Regions from separate parts of the Homo sapiens genome. Here regions 1, 2, 3 and 5 are each linked to region 4. Evidence: promoter capture Hi-C in 16 types of primary human blood cells and fetal thymus (Javierre and others, 2016). All regions are on one chromosome and are shown on one strand. Each heading gives the region's core, a stretch centred on a gene start or on the middle of the fragment in contact. The rest is flanking DNA. Distances are from core to core; before and after follow the strand shown. Region 1 overlaps FMN1 (formin 1). Region 2 overlaps FMN1 (formin 1). Region 3 overlaps FMN1 (formin 1). Region 4 holds the start of SCG5 (secretogranin V). Region 5 overlaps FMN1 (formin 1).

The links. The method cuts DNA at HindIII sites, captures the fragments that hold promoters and counts their contacts. A CHiCAGO score of 5 or more calls a contact.
Region 1: a contact is called between a fragment that was not itself captured here and the fragment with the promoter of SCG5 in region 4, in 7 of 17 cell types (M2 macrophages, M0 macrophages, M1 macrophages and 4 more). The highest score is 14.7, in M2 macrophages.
Region 2: a fragment that was not itself captured here is called in contact with the fragment with the promoter of SCG5 in region 4 in 7 of 17 cell types (M2 macrophages, M0 macrophages, M1 macrophages and 4 more); the score reaches 17.7 in M2 macrophages.
Region 3: a fragment that was not itself captured here is called in contact with the fragment with the promoter of SCG5 in region 4 in 2 of 17 cell types (M1 macrophages and M0 macrophages); the score reaches 6.6 in M1 macrophages.
Region 5: a contact is called between a fragment that was not itself captured here and the fragment with the promoter of SCG5 in region 4, in 6 of 17 cell types (M0 macrophages, M1 macrophages, M2 macrophages and 3 more). The highest score is 16.7, in M0 macrophages.

What each region holds. Positions count from the first base shown.
Region 1 is chr15:32,940,831-32,943,530 of GRCh38, forward strand. The region is part of intron 9 of FMN1 (formin 1); the gene reads right to left. Among named protein-coding and RNA genes, the nearest start is that of GREM1-AS1, 220 kb to the left of the region's middle. The HindIII fragment of the contact is 4,431 bases long and covers 1-2,700 here.
Region 2 is chr15:32,990,907-32,993,606 of GRCh38, forward strand. The region is part of intron 7 of FMN1 (formin 1); the gene reads right to left. Among named protein-coding and RNA genes, the nearest start is that of FMN1, 200 kb to the right of the region's middle. The HindIII fragment of the contact is 4,209 bases long and covers 1-2,700 here.
Region 3 is chr15:32,914,556-32,917,255 of GRCh38, forward strand. The region is part of intron 10 of FMN1 (formin 1); the gene reads right to left. Among named protein-coding and RNA genes, the nearest start is that of GREM1-AS1, 200 kb to the left of the region's middle. The HindIII fragment of the contact is 4,132 bases long and covers 1-2,700 here.
Region 4 is chr15:32,640,314-32,643,013 of GRCh38, forward strand. It overlaps SCG5 (secretogranin V), which reads left to right and starts at 1,397. Exons shown (of 6, transcript NM_001144757.3): 1 at 1,397-1,465. All of the region lies in intron 9 of ARHGAP11A-SCG5 (ARHGAP11A-SCG5 readthrough), which reads left to right. RefSeq lists enhancers at 890-1,530, 1,531-2,169. The HindIII fragment of the contact is 7,166 bases long and covers 1-2,700 here.
Region 5 is chr15:32,964,975-32,967,674 of GRCh38, forward strand. All of the region lies in intron 8 of FMN1 (formin 1), which reads right to left. Among named protein-coding and RNA genes, the nearest start is that of FMN1, 230 kb to the right of the region's middle. The HindIII fragment of the contact is 4,024 bases long and covers 1-2,700 here.

The DNA of each region.
Region 1 (2,700 bases), core at 140-2,639, 300 kb after region 4:
AGGGTAAAGGTTCTTCCGGGCATTAAGACCCAATAGCAGCAGAGGCTTTCACAAAACCATGAGGTCAGTTTATCACATTTGATTGTTAGACGTTAGTGGGATTCCTGACTGTATTAGCATCCAGCTTCATCATATTAAAAGGAGTTAGTTAGCTTGCCTTAGGTAAATAACAAAGGAAAGGTTCCCCAAAAGCCCCGGCCCACAGGTTAGTGCCTTATCCCCACGTAACATAAAAAGCAGCCTGCGAAAAAAATCAAGCTGCAGGAACCAATAATATGAATGTCAAAATAATTATTTTCCATGTTTACGTGAAGCCAGTAGATAGAATTTATGCTTTAAGCTCCCAACTTGATTTTATTCCATGTAGGTTCTTGGGGGGAAAAGTGGCTACTACAGGCTGTTCAGGAAAGATAGTTCAGAAAACATTTACTGGAGAGTGTAAGTATTTGTAAGATTTTGCTTATCCAATGTTACTCTGGTTGAATTGGATTTTGGAGTCATTTAACACTTAGCACTGAAGAAACCTACAAATTTCATCTAATTTATCCCTCTGCCTTTGGGTTGGCCCAGAAGTCCACGTATGTAAGTATAGACCTTACTTTACAAGAATGTGCACACTTCATTATAAAGGTTACATTTAGATAATGCACACATTTATAGCCATTTTCTCTCAAACAATACAACAGAGCACTACTTCAGCTAATTGTAAATACAAATTAAACTGTTCATTCCACTCCTAGTCTATGATCCCTTATCATACTCACTTTTCATTCTTCTTTGTCCTCATATGCATATTACCTGATGTGTAATAATCCTCCAAGTCATTTTCTAGTATTAAGAGACTTTTGGCAGTGAACTATTTTACCTGATGTTTGGCTCAAATTCCTCATGCTCCCATTTTGAACCATCTTTTTCTGCTCTCAGGGAAGGTAGGAAACAGCTGGTCACCATCCCCTACACTAAGCTCCTTCAGAAACCTCAAGATCACCATTTTTTTTTAAACAAGAGATGTTTTATATCAGATTGTTAAAAATCAGTTTTTGAGGGACGTTAGCAAGCCCTCACTTTATCTCCGCCCTATCTAGAGTCAGCTGAACTTGGCAGCACATGGCTTTCTCCTAGGTATAATTACAGTCTGGAGGAGAATGCAATTTGTGCAGCATTCCACTGACCTACAAGCTGACCTTGTGCAGGGGCAAATTCACAGGTTGCGTTAAACCCTATTAGACATGCCTAGTTTAAGGCAAAGCCTTTCCAGACCCCTGCCACATGCCAGGATTAGGGCATGTCACACGTGCGTACTATTACATCGCCTAAGGGACTCTCCCAATGCCTTCCAGAGTGGGAAAGGCAGGCCCACACTGTCTAAACCTGTACATTAAGCCAGTATAGACAAATTATTATTATTCCTCACATATGTGAATTTTTTTAAAGCCTGCCTCTGTGAATAAGAATTAAGACAAAAATGGGAAGACAGATTTGCTACACTGGGAAAATCATACCTTCAACCTCAGCTAGAAAAGTTCTGCCAGACAGGCTGAGAAAGAATTCTTGTCAGGTCCAGTGGGATTTTTACATCTACAGAAAATCTGTACACTGTATATCTTCGGCTTTCTGCCTGAGCTTGGCAGACAGGGCCAAAAATAAAAATAAATGGTTCTGAATAGACCACAAGTGCTGGAAGTCTGCTCAGCCAAGTGAGTTTGGCATAGCTACAAAATTAAGAGAAACACAGAAGCCCTCTTCTTCCATGGAGCCTTCCCTGTCTGAAAGGAAGATGATTAATTTCTACATCTACACCTTTGCTAGACACCAAACACATTCATACCTATACCAGATCGAGTGCATATTTTGCTCTTTGGCTTAAGTTTCACATTTGAACATACTCAGTTCCAGTCACAGGGTTTCCATCTCCAGCACAGTCAGTTTTATCCTAGAGCCTGGCAAATAAGCAGAGAGTTTTTTCAAATACAGCCACATGTGCTATCACCAATGAATAGCTGCTGGCACTTCAGGGAACTAAGGGCATGTGAAAGTTGCTGCTTTTCCTGTCTGAATCAACTATTTCACCCCACCAAAAACAAACAAATAAATGTAGAAACCATATATATATGAGTAGACATTTACTTTCATGACAATGATATACAGGTCGAGCATCCCAAATTCAAAACTCAAGAACTCCAAAATACGAAGTATTTCAAAATCCAGAACTTTTTCAGCGCTGGTACAGTGCTCAAGGAAAATGCTCAGTGGGGTATTTCAGGTCTTGGATTTTCAGATTTGGAATGCTCAACTGGAAAATTTGAAATCTGAAACGTTTCTGGTCTCAACCATTTCAGATAAGGGATACTCGACCTGTATACCAAATATCCACATAGGGTACACGGTCAGCTATATAGAACAAGTGTGTAAATGATCTGGCCTTTCTTGGTAAGATTGAACAACAGCGTGGAGAATTCACATAAATTAGACAATCTGATTCTCCCAAGTACAATTCTAAAAAATACAACTTCTATTTTTGTGCCATCAAACTAGTGTTATCTCTTGCTTATGCTTCACATCAATACTCGCTGAATTCCACCACCTGGCCAAACTATGGACATTAAGAGGCTGGTTGGTAAAAAGTAGATATGCTACTGATGACAAGTCAGCTTGTCTTAGTAACAGTCATCCCACTTCTAAGTCATGGGCTTCCAAATA
Region 2 (2,700 bases), core at 132-2,631, 350 kb after region 4:
GTAACTGCTCCCATGATTTAATTACCTCCCACCAGGTTCCTCCCATGACACGTACGGATTATGGGAACTGCAATTCGAGATTTGGGCGGGGACACAGCCAAACCATAGCAGCAACCAAACGAGAAAAGAGCAGAAGCAGCAGTAGATGATATCAAAGAGAACAGGTGAAGAAACACCAGCCACCTGCCTTTCTTTTCCTATGCATAAGGCCAAACCTAACAACCAAGCAAAGAAATAAAGGCATTTATAGCCCATAGACAAAGGCCCTCATTCTTTATTTTCTCTCGGTTTCAGAAGAAATGCCACCTCTTTCTTCCCAGAATCTCCTGGGTCCCTGATTTCGCTGTCTTCTACATTCTCAGGAATACTTTCTCATCAACTTATTCCTTCTGGCCAGCTCCCTGCTTTACCTATTTAGATCTCTTGCTGGAAATGCTGGACTGCTCAGGCTGTTTCCTGCACCATCTACATCTACTGCATATTGATTCTCATATGCTGCATAGTAACTTGACAAATATTACCCTACATGATCTAAACAACACTGTGGTGAAGGTAGGAGCCCCAAATTCTGGACCATCGAAAATCACAATCTAGGGAGCATCAGGGCTGTGATTCAAAGCTGAGTCTTCTGCTGCAGCCTCGTGTTCTTTCTCCTCTGCAGGGCTGTCTCTTGATGCTGGTCAAGATGCAGGCAGTAGACTGTTTCTATCTAAACATTACAAACGACTTGGCTTGCTGTCAGACACCTAACTTTAAATGGCTAAAATCGCTTGATAAATGGTGTGAAAATTTTATGGTCCTTCCGTCAGACACCGTAATTTATTATCACATAATGCACAGTTAGAAGAACCAAAAGAAACCATCCCACAAGGGCAAACAATGTGGAGGCAGTGGCCCTTTGACACTCAAAGGCCACAGGCATTATATGGATCCAATAAGAGAGCTGCTTCTACGAACAAGAGAACAACCTCTTGATCTTGCAAAATATTTTTGGACACCTAAAGGCTCTTTTATTACTGTGGCTGATTAAAATGAAAAGTTTAAACGACTAAAATGTTCTTTTTGATGAGTTTTTACCATGAACTATAGACCTTGTAGTCCAGGGGGATTCAAGCCCTTTGATCCTGCGTACTCACATAAATTCAGAGTCATAAAACAACATTGGATTTGATTTTACTAGTGTAGCTGATGTTGCCAGATTTGTAATGCAATCTTGTTTTCTCCCCTCCTTGTTTTTGAGCCCATCCACCATTGTTTTATAGCAAAAGGAAAGGAGTTTCCATTTGGTTTTGGCAATCCAGTTTCAAGACTGAGCCACTTTTCTAGAACGTTGGAATTTTACAGAAAAATAATGGTCCTGTATTGTATCCATCAAAACGGGAATCAATGTTAGTTTTGCATGCTGAAAATAAAGTATCAAAAAGAAAACCCTCTTCTCATTATAATAATCACAGATTTTCATTACTTAAGATGGTTAGAGGATGATGTGGTTGAGAACAATAGTATAAGTATGAAGTAGAAAAACTGGTGTGATTTAGTGTTTATAAATTTCCCTCAGGACTAACTGAAAATAAATTAGAAATATCAAAAGATGCCCAATTTATTCATCAATGGCAGATTATAGATCATATCTTAGTTTACAAACTTAAGAAAAAGGACTGGTATCTGTGGGAGAAATAAAGAAAATGTTCGATAAGACATATGTTTAACAAAAAGACATGCAGTAAATATAACTTAGATGTTTAATTCACTTTCTTCTAATATCCTAATCATTTTCCTGTGTGTATGTGCAATATCATATTCCTATAACTCCTAAGACATGAAATTTTTACTATAAAGGGTCTATGAGGGAATAAGAAGACAATTTTATTAAATCTATGTTATAAAGACCATAACAATCAATAGTGGGTCATAAAAATCGTTCATTTTTACGGAGTAAAATATCAGTTTGGGCTCAGAGAGATCAATGTATATTTAGCCTATTCACTAGACCAAGTAATACTAATTTAACAGTTTTCACTAACTTTATTTTTCATGGATTGCCTGAAAGATGAAACATTTCTCGCCAAGATTGTTCTGTAAGTGACACAGGACATAAGGGTCATGTGATACTTCAACAATTCTAATTGGAAAAGAGTCACCATGTAAGGGATGCTTCATTCTCCTAGGGACAATGCCTTGTGACATTTTCAGCTGCAGTCTCTTAACACCTGCTGAGGCCCCAGTGAACATTTCAGAATACGATTCATTCAGAGAAATATCATTCCAATACACATTCACTTCCTTGCCATTTGGTATGAATATATTACATTAAGCCATATAAAATTGCTGCTTTATAAGTCAAATAGGTCAAATATCAGCAATTTAATGCAGTTCAACTTATAAACTTCATTTAGCAAATTTGAAAATTATCATTGTTCTATGTTTTCTCAGTTAATCCTTTAAATTATGTCTAAAGGATCTATTTGCCATAGATAAGGGTCATGCCATATATAGTTTTAAAACAAAACAAACAGAACTGTGTTATACAGACACCTACTGCAGCTTTCAAAGACAGTACAAGAAACTGCCCCCTGTCTACAGAGACAAGTAATTGTTCTGGTGGTGTGTATATCAAATTAAGATAAGAGAAGTGTATCCAGTTAACAAGAGCTTTCTCATTTCATGCTCAAAAGGGTAGTGTGTTGTCAGCACCTTCTT
Region 3 (2,700 bases), core at 153-2,652, 270 kb after region 4:
AGAGCTGTTGAGCAGTTATGAATGGAGGAGTAAATTGGACAAAATTATATTACACACACAAAAAGTCAAAATTTGAAAAGACTAATTTAGAATCTATTGTAATGGGCAAGAGGTAGCAAAAACTTGAATAGTGTGGACAGAAAGGATAGGGCAAAAAAGAAAGACACTACAGAGCACTATTATAGTGACATTGCTAACTAGCTCTGGGGACTTAGCCTGAAACCACTCTGAGGCTTTGAGCCTAGGTTTAGGGGAAGAGCTTTGTACCATCCCCCCAGAAACAGGCAGAGGAGTCTAAGAGGTGAGCATGACTACTGATCTGTCCCCCAGGGACTGGGAAAGGAATGGAGTAGAGAGGAAAGGACAGGTAAAAGAAGTAGATAAACAGATGAACTTAGGGCCAATGCCAAGTATTCCACTGAAGTTTCTCCTCTTCCACGGAAGGATCTTAAAAATAAAATCTAAAAAGTAAAAGAAAATTCAGAGGTAGCAGAAGCAATATCAAGAGATTGATACTGAGCCTAGAACTTATGGAGATTAAATTAGTTGTATTATTTCTAATAATATTGGCCTGGGAAGGTTAGGGTATCAGCCAGAAGTCTGAAAAATAAAAAGGCCTACCAAGTCCTAGGATGCCTAAGAGAACTGCCTTACATGTACATAATCCCATGTCTTAGTCACCAAATATAGTTTAGGTTCCTAGAGAGCCAGAATCCACACCTGATAATTCTATTCTCAAAATACTGGAACAACGTATTAGAGAATCAATGAATGCTCTCCGATTAAGTCATTCTTGCAAGCACTTACCATTAAACTTATTAGCCATTACATAAGCCCAATTAATTAGTTAACTAATTTGTAATCATAATGATCACAATGTGGAAAGAAGTCAGTCTTCAACTAAACTATTTTCGGCGTCACCCAAGATCAGATCGCTCCCTCCATTTTATACTTTGAAAACACTCACTTTCTGTCTCTGTCTCTTCCACGCATGTGTGTGCACACAGGCACACCGCTCATAAACTGAACCAACAAATACAAGCCTATGCAATTTTACAGCAAGCCTCAAAGCTCTGATACAGTAATTCCAAGTAATCCTACTTTTGTTTCCATCTGTATAGGTCTCATTATACTAACACTCCTGCAGATGGTGTCAGAAAGGTGAAGTGTCAAGTCCACAAAGGGGAGACCCCAACAGCTCATTGCTACTGCAATATCAATCACTGCTGGTGGTTTTTACTTTTATCTCCTTCCCTCCTTAGTTGTCCCACTCACACTGTCAGTTCGGTTAGAATATTTCACCTACACCTCACAATATGTCAAAAGGAAGTAGACACACGCTGTGAAAAGCTGGTAATTTTATTAGATTCCTTTACCTTTAAAAATCTGTTACTTGGTCAAGTCTGGTTTCTGGGCTTCTTTTTTGCAGGGAAATTGAGGCAAACATTTTTATGTGGTCCTCTGGTGCCTGCTCTGTACCACAAGAATTATATACACAAGGATCATTAGAGTAGTGTTTCGCCCATTAAGATATAATAACCGTCAGCAGGGACAAAAAGCAGATCAGTATCACAAATTCAAACTAACAGGCACACATAAAAACTATGTGCCTGCTTTAGGGCACATGCAAGGGGTCAGGGTCTCATACAACAGGGAAAATTCCCCCTCCGGGTAAGAGATGGCTTTTCACAAGACCAGGGTTAAGTAGAAAGAACATGCAGGATTCTCTCAGCTCTCCAGCCATTTTTCAACCCTGAACACTTCTCTCTCCAAGTGTACCATGCCCATATAAACAAAGAATGCACTTGCTGTTCGAAGGGCTTCTAATGAGTAAAAAGACAGGCAGAGTTATTTAAGGGAGTTGTTCTCTTTGACTGAGGGAGCACCTCTGAGCAAGAAGCATGGGACACGGTGGTGAGAAAGGCATACCTTGTATAGTCTGTTAAGATTAGCCAAAGTAAATCTGGTCATCCGAAGTGTGGGAGATGCCACAGGTAGGTAGGGTTGGGTTGGCTCACCAGGTTTCGGCTGACGGTGGTTTTGAGAATGATTTGTACGTAGCCTGTTTTATTCTTCTTTTTATTTCCTTAAGTGACTGATGTAAGCCTCTTGCACAAAGCGGGTATGTAATAATGTTTTGCAAATGGACTAGATATAGTCTGGTCCAGCCCAGGAAAGCAAAGTTTGATAGGATTACTTGACTCTATTAGCAGAAATTATTTTGTTTACAATGTTAACTCTGCAACAGCCAAAATAAAACTTAGCTGCTTTGCCCAAAATACTGGTATTTTTCAGAACTCGACAGAAATTCAATCAGTAAGAGAAAGAGAACAGAGCAGGGAAAGAAATATAGAAGGACTTGGTTTTTTGAAACTCTCATGTCACCTATATCCCACAAAACTCTGACAAACCTACTCCGTGACCTCTACAAAGGCAACGATAACATGGGGTTCATGGGAAGAGGCAGTAGTACAATCTGAGAGTTGAGGAAAGGGAAGGCAGAAACATCTTCCCACAGTTTTCCCTCCCAACAATGAGGTCATCCTTGAGAGCAAACACCAAGTCTATGAAAAAAACTGCAAGAAGTGGAAAGAAGGGGAGCCAGTAGAGAGGGGTGTGGAGCGTGGAAGGACCACTCGGAGGCAAGGCCAGGGGACCGTACAGATCTGCTCCCGCTGAAGAGCTCTGTAACAAGCCTCT
Region 4 (2,700 bases), core at 147-2,646:
CGGGATTTCACCATATTGGCCAGGCTGATCTCGAACTCCTGACCTTGTGATCCTCCCACCTTGGCCTCCCAAAGTGTTGGGATTATGGGCGTGAGCCACTGCACCTAACCTCTGTGATCTCTTAAATATATATGAAGTTTTATTTTTGAAACACCAAATTTCAAATGAAGCATAGGCATTTTGATCTATTTCAGTTAAATTTAACACAAAAGCAGTAAATTGTAGTGACTTCATTTTTTTCAACCACAAAATGAAGATAACAATGAACAAAGCTAAAGTAAAACTCAGAATTGAAAAAAGTCTCTGTGCATCAATAATAAATACTAACTCCAGCATGGCCAGTGAGCCTAGAGCCATTTAATGGATAGTGTTTGTCCTGTTGATTTAGCATGCATTGAAACAAGAAGCAAGAAGCAGATGAGCATCCGTGAAAGAAAAAGTACTGGGAAAGAGGCTTGGCTTCAAAATGAAAGGCCATGTGTCTCATAAATGAATTTTGCCAGCCTCTATTTATTGCATAAAAATTGCTGTAGATGATAATGGATTTGCTCTCTAGAGCTAAGATAAATAGATCTGGATTCTAACCTCATCAGGTTACTTGTTTTGAGACCCCCAGGTTCTTTACTCATCCTCCATCTTGATCAAATTTGTAGTGCCATATTTATTGTATGGCTTTACATTTTGATTTTAGTATTTGAACAAATTTCAGTGTTCAAGATTGCACATAGTAGGTGCTCCATAAACCCTTATTTAAGAATCTGGGACTACCTGGACATACTTCTACAGTATGCTGGGAGTATGGTTTCTCTTCAGGCCAAAGTGGAATTTTACTTGATGGTTTGTGTGGACGTTTAGAAATAACACTCAGAGCTGATATTTCTACAGATTTTCAAGTTTATCACTTTAATGGAAGTTTCTGGCTTCTTGTATTAAATATCCCCATAGTTTTCCTGATTAGTAAGAGGCCCCTCAGAGCAGGGTATACCTTATCATAGCCACCATTAAAAGTTCTTAGGACTTCATCTTTTGTCTCTCTACCATTCATTGCCTCTTCCCTCTTGAAGCTGAAAGGCTTTAGACACAAAAACAAAAAACATATTCTAGAAGTTGACAAAATTAAAGGTGTGCTGTAGTGGTGATCTGGCACGTTGTAATTGAGACTGAGGAGGTGAATGACTTACATGGAGGTCGATGGAGCTGAAGAGGGTCTCTAGGAAATGTCATAGTCAAGAGGTTTGTATGCAGAATGTGGGGGTTGAAGAGCTGTGCGGCTCCTGGTGAGAGGCACACTTATCTGGGATGCAGTCTGGGGAGTCCTGGCGAGGCAGCTTCCACCTGCTGGAGGAGGGGCCGGGGCGGAGCTAAGATGCGGAGGAGGGTGACGCACTAGCTCTCCAGTTCGCCCGTTCCTGGCCTGACCCCCACCAAGGCCCATACCGCAGTAGGCTCCTCGGGCTGCCCCTCGGTGAGTACAGTTTTGATGTCGGCTCGGCCGCCTGCCGCCAACCCGAGATTTGGTATTGCCAGTTGTGGGAGGGCGTCCTGCTAAAATCCTTGAGGTGGAGGCTGGGGTCAGACGAAGGATGCGTAGGGGATTAGAATGTTTGGCTATCAGTAAGGGGAAGGGAGTACTGAGGGAGGAGATTGTGTAGTTCATCAAATCAGAGCGGCGTTTGCTGGGATGACATCCTGCATTCAGAGTGGACAAGGGAAAGATGGAGATGGAGAGCCTCGTGTCTGCCTCCAGCCTTTTCCATCAGAATTGCAGATTTTGCTGTTAAACAGCTACTCTCAGCTCTTTGGAGAGCAAGGTTTTATATCTAGTGGCTAGAAAAGGCCTTTTCTTTGCAGAAAAAGAAATTGGAGGGTATAAAAATTTTTGTTTCAGTAAAGGAAATGCACGATTTTGCCTCCTCCCACCTCTCCATCCCCCATCCTCAGTAGAAGAATGATTAGAAGGAGGGTTTGCGCCGGTCCTGGTGGCTCACGCCTGTAATCCTAGCGCTTTGGGAGGCTGAGGGGAGGGGGTGGATCACCTGAGGTCAGGAGTTCGAGACCAGCCTGACCAATATGGTGAAACCCTGCCTCTATTAAAAATACAAAAATTAGCCGGGTTTGGTTGTGGGCGCCTGTAATTCCAGCTACTCGGGAGGCTGAGGCAGGAGAATCACTTGAACCTGGGAGGTGGAGGTTGCAGTGAGTCGAGATGGCGCCACTGCACTCCAGCCTGGGCAACAAGAGTGAAACTCCGTCTCAAAAAAAAAAAAAAAAAAAAAAAAAAAGGGTTTGCAAGGCCGCTGCCTGAAGCATGCATCCAAACACGTTAAGCAGCTGTGGGGTAAGCTGCAAGGATAATGTTCACTTGTTTTGCAGACATACCCATAGAAACCAACATTTTGGACAGGTTGACCCTCCCACCCCCAGGCTAGTTAACTCCCTCTCACCACCACTGCCTCCCCATATTCTAACCTCCAGAACTGTTAAGGCAATGTTAGCAACATAATAATAGCAATATAGGGGCTCATTCTGTGCCTGGCATTGTCCTAAACACTCTTAACATGTATTTGCACACACCCTCACAACAACCCTAAAAGGTAAATGCTTTAATTATCTCCGTTTTGCAGAGGAGGAAACTGAGGGACTTGCCTACGATCACTCAGCATGTGGCTGAGCAAACAAACCTCAAACTACCCCAGCAGA
Region 5 (2,700 bases), core at 183-2,682, 320 kb after region 4:
AAAAGCTCTTGAGAATCAGGCGTAACAGAACAGCCTCCGTGAGCTGACTCCAGTGGTCACTCCTCAGGGTTCCCTCAGTCAGAACACATCTCCCAAATGTTTACTTTCTTATCTTAATTTCAAACACTATTAATGTTTACTGGTCAGGCATGGTAGCTCACACCTGTAATCCAAGCACTTTGGGAGGCTGAGGTGGGCAGATCACTTGGGGTCAGGAGTTCAAGACCAGCCTGGCCAACATGGTGAAACCCCATCTCTACTAAAAAATACAAAAAATTAGCTGGGCGTGGTGGTGGGTGCCTGTAATCCTAGCTACTTGGGAGGCTGAGGCAGGAGAATTGCTTGAACCCGGGAGGCAGAGGTTGCGATGAACTGAGATTGTGCCACTGCACTCCAGCCTGGGTAACAGAACAAGAGTCCATCTCAAAAATAATAATAATAATAAATACTATCAATGCCCACAAATTTCATCTATATACTTATTGTTTATCAAACATAGGTATATGTTACAATCCATAACATCTAAAAGTATATAGCTTTATTTCCATACCTATTTTCTCAATGAAAACTAAAAAGATAACTATTATTACATGGAATGGTCCACAGAATTTTGTAATACTACAGGTGATTTTGGTATTTAAAACAGTTGGCAGCCCTGGCTCCTCAGGTCTGCGTGTTCACACTTTGCAATAGATCTGCCTTTCCCATGATATATGACATTTTGGTTTTGGCCACATTCACCTCTTCTCTCCTCTACTTTTTATTTTTTAAATTATGATTTCGCCAATAGTTGAACCATGTAATAGTATGACATATGGAAGTTATAAAGTATAACAATAGAATGAACACCTGGGAAACCATTACCCAACCCAAGGGCTAGAACATTTCCAGTGAAGTACATCCATGTATGTGTTCCTCTCTCAGCCATACCCCTCTGCTACTCACTTAACTTCAACTTGAAGCATAAGCACCACGGATGTTAAGTGCTTATCTCTGTGGTGCTGGGGGAGACGGGGGAGAAGTAGGATCTTGAAGAAGGAAGTCAGCTGGGAATTCTGGAGTGAGCATGCGGCATGTTAAGGGCCACTGGTCTGGGCCTTGGGAAGGTTCTGGGCAGCTAAGGGGTGACGTCTAGAGTGAAGTGATGCAGAGTGTCAGGCCAACTGCTCAGCCCCATCCCCACTTCCTGCACCTGCTTGGCTCTAGCCCCACGGACTCTGAGGTCAGGCCAGTGTAACTAGTATTATAATTCACTTATATTCTGGAGTAAATTGGCTTTGGGAGTCAACCGTGATCAGTTTAAGCACCTGATCACCATTTACAACACTATTTCTATGGGAAAGGTATTTCCAATACTGAATGAAAGAATTTTGGAACACTGCCTCTCAGTGATTTTGGGACAGCCAGCATTTGGTAGGGCAATAATAAGGACGTGCTTCCCAACGAATGACCTGCCATGGTGGTCAACTGACCACTGAACATACAATTCTAGCTCAAAAGGAAGGCAGGGGGAGAGAGAGAGAAAGAGGAGGAGGAAAATGAGAAACTTACTAAGAAGCTGAAAAGGTAGTTAGATGAGGATTTATTTTTCCTTAAGTGTCTCTTGCTTATTCTAGAAATCACGAAAGAGACACCCAAGAAGGCAAAACGTCAAAAGAAAAAAAATCAGTTCATACCAGGAGTCAAAAGCAATTTAGGTAGATGAGAGGCAGTGTACACATAATGCTGAAAATTCACATTTTGTTTCTGGCTTCCCAGAAGAGCAAGACCAACATTTATGATGCAATCATTATATAAACTACTTAATCCTCTAGTTGCACAAAATATTAAAATATGATTTTGCCTCCTTTATGAGAAGGTATCCCAAATAATTGCACTTTTGCTCCTAAGCAAATACTCCACAGGCTCTTTGAGTCATTTTCATTTAAAAGCAGTAGTGCTAATAGGTACAAAAAGTTGGAGGGACCCATAATAAAAGAACTTGAATATGTGGTACCACCAGGAAGTGCCCGTGTTGCAGTCTTAACACATCATAGAGGGGCAGCCCCCCGTGTTATGTTTCAGGTTCAAATGCGCACCAAGCAGGGCTCTCTTGATGTCCTATTCATCTACTTTTCATTTTGCTCAAAAGTAAAGCCCTAGATTTATGATGAAACCAGTGAGACCTTCAGTATTCAATTGCTTTTCTTCTCAAAACGGCCAACTAAATGAGGAGGAAACAATGTAGACAATGATTGTCTCCAGCTTTCCCGTGGTCGTGGGTGAAGGGCCCACATCTCCCAGTGGGACTCTTTGATGGCTGCTGTGGTCCACAGTTACCTGTTGCTCATGAAGTCTCTCAGGGAAGGAAGTGAAGGCAGGCTAGTGGGACACAGGTGTGGAACAGCTCCCCGTGCTGTCGGACACACTCGTCCAGGGCTTACAGGTGGGAGCTATTGCCCTGGAATGGCTGTGCACTAATTTGAGAACACTAATACGGAAACATGACTCAAAATAAATATTCTGGGAAATGATTTTTTAGGAAATGTCTGAGTCTTTATTGGGAAAAAGGGAATACTAGTACTTTAGTTAATGGCAGAAGCTATTACAGGATCATCTCACTTTTTTATGAACCATTCATTTGGGAAATTACAAAGTATAATTGAATTTTGTAAAAAAGAAGTATCAGGATGTTCCAAAAACAAACTCTTGGCCCTTATT